Regions from separate parts of the Homo sapiens genome. Here region 2 is linked to region 1. Evidence: promoter capture Hi-C in 16 types of primary human blood cells and fetal thymus (Javierre and others, 2016). All regions are on one chromosome and are shown on one strand. The core of a region is centred on a gene start or on the middle of the fragment in contact, and the rest is flanking DNA. Distances in the headings are between cores, read along the strand shown.

The links. Contacts are between HindIII fragments. The CHiCAGO score rates a contact against its expected background, and 5 or more counts as called.
Region 2: a contact is called between a fragment that was not itself captured here and the fragment with the promoter of MYO1D in region 1, in 4 of 17 cell types (monocytes, megakaryocytes, total CD8 T cells and 1 more). The highest score is 7.2, in monocytes.

The regions. Positions count from the first base shown.
Region 1 is chr17:32,875,098-32,878,651 of GRCh38, reverse strand. MYO1D (myosin ID) reads left to right here and starts at 1,528. Exons shown (of 22, transcript NM_015194.3): 1 at 1,528-1,874. The coding sequence starts at 1,780. It overlaps MYO1D-DT (MYO1D divergent transcript), which reads right to left and starts at 1,797. Exons shown (of 4, transcript NR_184086.1): 1 at 1,759-1,797; 2 at 691-808; 3 at 17-352. RefSeq lists silencers at 1,809-1,996, 1,203-2,192. The HindIII fragment of the contact is 7,647 bases long and covers 1-2,821 here.
Region 2 is chr17:32,669,513-32,672,610 of GRCh38, reverse strand. The region is part of intron 16 of MYO1D (myosin ID); the gene reads left to right. Among named protein-coding and RNA genes, the nearest start is that of CDK5R1, 180 kb to the right of the region's middle. The HindIII fragment of the contact is 2,615 bases long and covers 212-2,826 here.

The DNA of each region.
Region 1 (3,554 bases), core at 279-2,778:
CATAGGACAGTCCTACCTTATTCCAGAGCTTTTATTCCACAAATGAGGACACTGATATCGAGACAGGTGGATCTCCTCCTTCTGAAGGACAGCTGCTAACGGTAGTCAGATGCAACCCAGCTCTGCTGGTGCCAGGGATTGGGGTGGTTTTCTGATGGCAGAGGCAGTCCCTCAGGAGGTGACAAAGCTCCTTTCCTTTCTCTTAGCAAGTGTGGGTGGCTGGCAGCTGAAGCAGGCCTTGGGCAAGGTCCTTCAGTCTGGTTTACTCATCTCAAACTCAGCCAGAGTTGAAGCCCAGCCAGGTCCTTGGAGGCCTCTAGATTTCCTCGTAGATTTTGTAATAGAAGATGTCCTAACAGAAACACAGGACTGAATAAATGTAGATACCTTAGAAAGTCATTTATTTAAAAAAAATAGCTGGGCATGGTGTCATACACCTGTAGTCCCAGCTGCTCAGGAGGCTGAGGCTGGAGGATTGCTTGAGCCCAGGAGTTTGAGGTTGCAGTGAGCTGTGATTGCACCACTGCACTCCAGCCTGGGTGACAGAGGGAGAATTTGTCTCCAGAAAAAGAAAAAAAAAAAAAAAAGAAAGAAAGTCATTTGTAGTATATTTTCTTTGGGAAAATACATTGAGTTCAAAAAGAATTTTCCAAGCTCAACCAATGTATCAATAAATTGGAGACTACTTACAACTCACTTCATTCCACTGAACCAGTATGGATTTCATATTTATATATGCAAAGTAGTACAATAGTTATTTGGTGGATGCAAAAAGAATGGTCCCATGCTCAAGACATCCGCAATAATCCTGGAGAGATGATACAAAGATATATTAAAAACTTAATAATCATATAAGGTAATGTCTGATGACATGCTCGGATGAGTGGAAGAGAAAATGGGCCACTGAAGAATGGAGGTAGTCAGACGTGGTTGAACGCTGCGGCTCCTAAGTCAAATGACCTGCGTGAAACCGCAGCTGCTCCACTTCCTAGTCGTATGGCAAGTTTCTTAAAAGTTCTCTAAGGCGCTGAGAACAGCTCTGGGCATTTTTGGTGCCCCAAAAATGTTAGCCATTATTATTACCTCTCAGTCTGTGCTTGAACCACCACTTCAAGAATGGGCAGGGTGTGAGTAGAGAGGCGGGAGTGGGTTTTGGAGCAGGGTGACAGAATCATAATGAATTGTCCTCGCGAAAAGCTCCACGAACTACTTTTCTAACTTTGTTGGCAGCTACCAAGTGTGGGCGGCAGGCGGCCATCCTCTTGGCCGCCTGAGATCCCAGCGCCTGTCCCCAGGGGGCGCTGCCACCCAGCTGCCGCCGCCCGGCCCAGCGCGCGTCCCCGCCGCCCACCCGCGCGTGCGCGCCGCCCAGGTGAAGAGGCGGCGGCCAGGGCCGCGGCTGGGGCGGGCTCCTCAGTGGGCCGGGAGGGGCGGAGCCGGGAGGCCCGGGCGGGGCGGAGCCGGGACGAGCCCCAGGCTGGAGGCGGGACCAGCCGCTGCCGTCTCCGTCTCGGTGTCCCGGCCCCTACAGCGCCCGGCAGCCGCGGCGGGAGGAGCGGAAACTGTCGGGTGCGTCCCGTTCGGAGCCGCGCCGGCCGAGAAGGCGCCGAGGAGCAGCGAGGCGGCCTCTGTCCGGCCCGGACCCGCCGAGCGGCGTGCGCGCCCCCTCCCCGTAGCCTCGCGGCGCGGCCTCGCCCCGGCCCCTCCCGAGCTCATCGCGGGCCCACGGAGCGGCCCCGGAGGCCCGAGCGCGCCCACCTGAGCCCCCGCGCTGGCGCCATGGCGGAGCAGGAGAGCCTGGAATTCGGCAAGGCAGACTTCGTGCTGATGGACACCGTCTCCATGCCCGAGTTCATGGCCAACCTCAGGCTCAGGTGAGGGCGGAGCGGCCGCGCGCAGGGGCGCGAGGCTGCGCTTTCCCGAGAGGGGGCGCCTCGGGGCGCGGCCGGATCCGGGGTGTCGGGAGCGCCCAAGCTCCAGGGATGGAGGCGCGGCCGGGCTGCGGTGTCCGGGGGTCTGCCAAGCTCCGCGGCTGCGCTTTCCCGAGAGCGGACGCCCCTGGGGTGCGGCCGCTTTGGGGTGCGGGGGGCGTGTCGAGCTCAAGGGCCGCGCTTCCCTGAGAGGGGAGCCCTGGGCGCTGTCCGGGGTTTAGGTGCAGAGGGTGTGCCGCGCGGGAGGGCGCGCTTCCCCGCGCCAGGTGAGGGATGTGGGCGGGCCGGTGACCTCATGGAAACTGAAGGGAAATAACTTGAACGAGAGTTGCGGTGGCCCCGAAGGCCCTAGGAGGACTGGAGGATTATTTTGGAGAGAGGCTGGCGTCTCATCCCGGCTTTACACTTGCTTCTTTTCTTTCTTTCTTCGCCCTTCTTTTTTTTTTCCTCCTGGCGTAGTTCCATCCTGTCATTCAGGATGCTATGGAGTGATCCCTGAGCTGTCTGTTCCGGGACACTGGCTATTTTTTTAGTTACTCTCTAAACGTAATTAGACACGTTTCCAGACATCGAAGAGACTGCTGTACTTGCCAGTGCCAAGATAAACTGTCTGAATTTGACAAGACGTTCATGGTTTTGGTTTTTTTCAAGGAGTTAGTGGATGGAGCTCTTGTGTTATTAACATCCTTGAGAACGTAGTCACAACTCAACGCCCCAAAATGGGCTTCCAAGATGTGGATTTGTTTTAGAAAGCCCTTTACATGCGATTATTTCACCCTTGATAGAGTAATATGTAAACAGTTTTAAAGTAGTTTGACTTAAACATTAAAGTAAGTGGAATTTCAAAATAGCTGAGTTTTGGTGTGCGTGTGTATGTTTCCCTGCAAGCTTTGGCTGCATTTCTTCTAAGGTTTATAGCTAAACATCATTCCTTAAGCTTATAAAGTGAAAGTCATAATCTAGGCTTGGGTGCTTAACCCTAATTTCATTATTAACTACCCCTGTCAATCCAGTTGACAGGGGTCAATCAGGTTGATTACATACCAGCATAATGATAGGATGTTACATTTCTGATCAAGGTTTGGATGTACAACTTTTATAGAAATCACCCCAAATATTAATCAAAATGATATACCTCTACATCAGCTATAACCAATACCCATTATCATAGTGATTAAGAGTCAGACTGTTGAGATTCAAATTCTAGTTCCACTGCATTCTTGCTGTGATCTTTGAGCAAGTTACTTAACCTCTCTGTGCCTCAGTCTTCCCGTCTGTAGGATTGGGGTTGTCCTGAGGGTTAAATGAATTATTAATAATATGTGTATACATACTTCAAAGATTAGTGCCTGGCAAATCCATATTAGTAAAACTGTTTTAAGTTTTCCCAAGTGCACATAAAATAGATAAAGGGGTAAGTTACATAGCAATTTCATAGATTAAGGTTGTTTTAAATTAAGAGATTCTACTCCTCTCCCCCACAGGAAATAAGTTGTGTGCTTTGAGAAATGCCTTTATAATTTTGTCACTCTCAGTTATAATCATTTCAGTTTTTCAGACATTGGTACATTTATTATGTACATACTGTATACAAGACCATGTAGTAACAGTTGAATATGAAGC
Region 2 (3,098 bases), core at 270-2,769, 210 kb after region 1:
AAGAGGCTGAGGCAGGAGAATCGCTTGAACCCAGGAGTTGGAGGTGGCAGTGAGCTGAGATCACACCACTGCACTCTAGCCTGGGTGACAGAGCAAGACTCCATCTCAAAAAAACAAACAAACGAAAAAAAACCTTTATGATTGGGAATTATCTGCGTATATATGAAGAATGTAGTAGTGTAGTAGTTTGGATTATGTTTGAAACCAAGCTTCCTGTTAATTATTATAGCAAGTCCAAGTCTCTCAGAGGGAAAATTAAATAATAGGCATTATTGCTTTATATACCATTAGACTGCTTTAAGTGTGATACATTTAGGAGATGGCATGATCAATTCTTGGAGCCAGACAGAGCTAAGATACAGTTTTATCATTTACTGTGTTATCCAAAGTATATCACTCTCTTTGAACCTTAACATCCTCCTTTGTAAAATGCTAAAAACATCTGCCTATTGGGACTATTGGAAAACTTAAAATGAGATAGCATGTGTCCCCTGGCACAGAGCCCAGCACATGACTGGCACTCACTCCCTTCCCTTCCTCCAATCTGCCAAATACCACATCATGTTTGTTCTGTAATTTTTGTTTCCTTATGCAGGGCCAGGACTCAAATGTAAAATTTAAGGCGGTACCAAAAATGTGGTCAGGATAGATAATATGTTCATGCAATATTTTTAAAAATCTGAAATTAATGGAACAAATCTGTGGTGAACAAAAGATCAAACTTTTAAATAAAGACGGGATCCATATTATTGAACTTTTTCCTTTTGCCTCAGGCTCCAATATGGCCCGACATGGCACAGCCTTTATATATAACTCAGTGCAGGTTAACATATGAATTAACTTAGCATCCATTAAACATGTTTCCAGTTTTTTAAATTAGCACAGACTAATTTACATACTCATAAAATTGCCATCATTTTCAATTTTTATATATACTCACCAATATTCAGAAAGCACAAGTACAACAAACTCCTTAGAAGAAAATTCAAATTTTTAAAAAAGGTATAATGACCACTCTTGCTTATGTAAAATTGTTAAAAATACATTGTGCAGTTGTTCTCCACTATCCCTTAAAGATACCTGTTGTTTTATTTTGAAATAATTTTAGATTTACAGAAAAGTTGCAAGAATAATATAAAGAATTCTTATGCCTTTCGCCCCAGCGCCCAAATGTTAAAATTTTAACTATATTTGCTTTATCATATTGACACAGGATTTTTCTTGGCCCCTTTGCTAGACTCGCAGCCCGGGCACCCTGTCTACTTGGCCCACTGCACTCAGCCCCTGGCAGGAGGGAGCACGTGGGCGAGCGAGTATGGGATCTGGCTGGCCGCTCCAAGCACCAACATAGAAGCAAGCTCCATGCAGGGTCCATGACCAAACCAGGCATATTACCCCCAGGGGAATGCAGTGATGCCCAGGCAGGGGTGCCTATGACTCCAGAGCCCCAAAGGGAGTGTTACAATATGCTTATTAGCTCTTTTAGCTCTGCCATCTGCAGCCCAACAAACAGGGATGTGTTAGCAGCTCCATCAGCCTTTTGCCCCACTCTGGCCTGCAGCTCCGGGACAGGCATGGCCCTGGGCCAGCTCAGGACCACCACTGCTTCTCTTCTATGGGGTGGCTGCTCTCCATTGACACAGGCAGAGGGTCAGTGTTACAGCCTTTCTGAATATCTGGTCCTAAGCTCTTGTCCTGCATCCAAGAAGAATGAGGTCATGCTGACAATTGAAGGGTGGTAAAGGCAGAACATTTTATTGAGCAACAAAACAGCTCTCAGTAGAGAGGGGACAGGCGGGTCAGATCATCGCTCCAGTGTGGCTGAGTCTGGGGCTTTTATAGGCACAGGATAAGGGAGTGCATGCTAATTGGTTTGTGAGTATGCAAACATGGTTAAAACAAAGGCACCAGTCGAAAGTGGACATGGTGTAAAAACAGGGAAGGGTATATGTAAAATAGGTGAAAGGTGGGGATCAATCAAAGGAAAGCACACCAAATGGGAAGACAGGTTCTCAGTCTCATCCATGGATTTGACTTGTAGCTTGGACTTCAGGCTTTAAGCTGTTTTTGGCTTGAAGGTAAGGTCGCACCAGGGACCCACCTATGTCTGCCTAGGATTTCTCTGTCTCCTGCCTCTATCAATGCTTGTTCTTTGGTTCTCTCTCTCTCTCTCAATCTGTATATGTGTATATCTGTGTATATAGATCTATTTGTGTGTATATATACAATTGGTTTTGGAACTATTTGAGAGTAATTTGCACATGTAATACCCTTTACCCCTAAATATTTCATGTATATTTTCTAAAAACAAGAGCATTCTCTTCTGTAACTATAGTATAATTATCAAAATCAGAAAATTCACACTGATACAATGATATTTTCTATGAGTTTACTTGGTTTAGGAAAATGTCTTTCAGCCAGGCACAGTGGCTCACACCTGTAATCACAGCACTTTGGGAGGCCAATGAGGGCAGATTGCTTGAGGTCAGGAATTCGAAACCAGCCTGGCTTACATGGCAAAACCCCGTCTCTACTAAAAAAAGACAAAACTTAGCCAGGCATGATGGTGCACACCTGTAACCCTGGGCTACTCAGGAGGTTGAGACAAGAGAATCGCTAAAACCAGGAAATGGAGATTGCAGTGAGCCAAGATCACACCACCGCAACTCCAGCCTGGGTGATAGAGTGAGACTCCACCTGAAAAAAAAGAAAAAAGAAAAAGAAAATGTCTTTCCTGACAAATGTGTATGCCTCTTATTAGCTAAATAAAATGTGTATAAAATACCCCATTTCTGTTACTGCTTTGACTTTTAATTAAAGTAAGCTTTATACACAATAGCTTTCATAGTCTAGGTTTTCTGGTATAATTACTCTTTATCTTATTTGAATAATTCTTTTATTTTGTTTGATTTCATTGCTTCCCAAAAGGATAGAACCTGGTTCTTTGGAAATTGTAGAGCAGGAAAACACTTCCTCTACCTGCTTAGATTCAGTGCCTGGGGCCTGCAAATTTAACTCACAAAAGACAGATTAACTGGAGAAAAGGCATACAATTTTTACTGATGTAAGGATTTTATATGCACAGGAACTTCACAGAA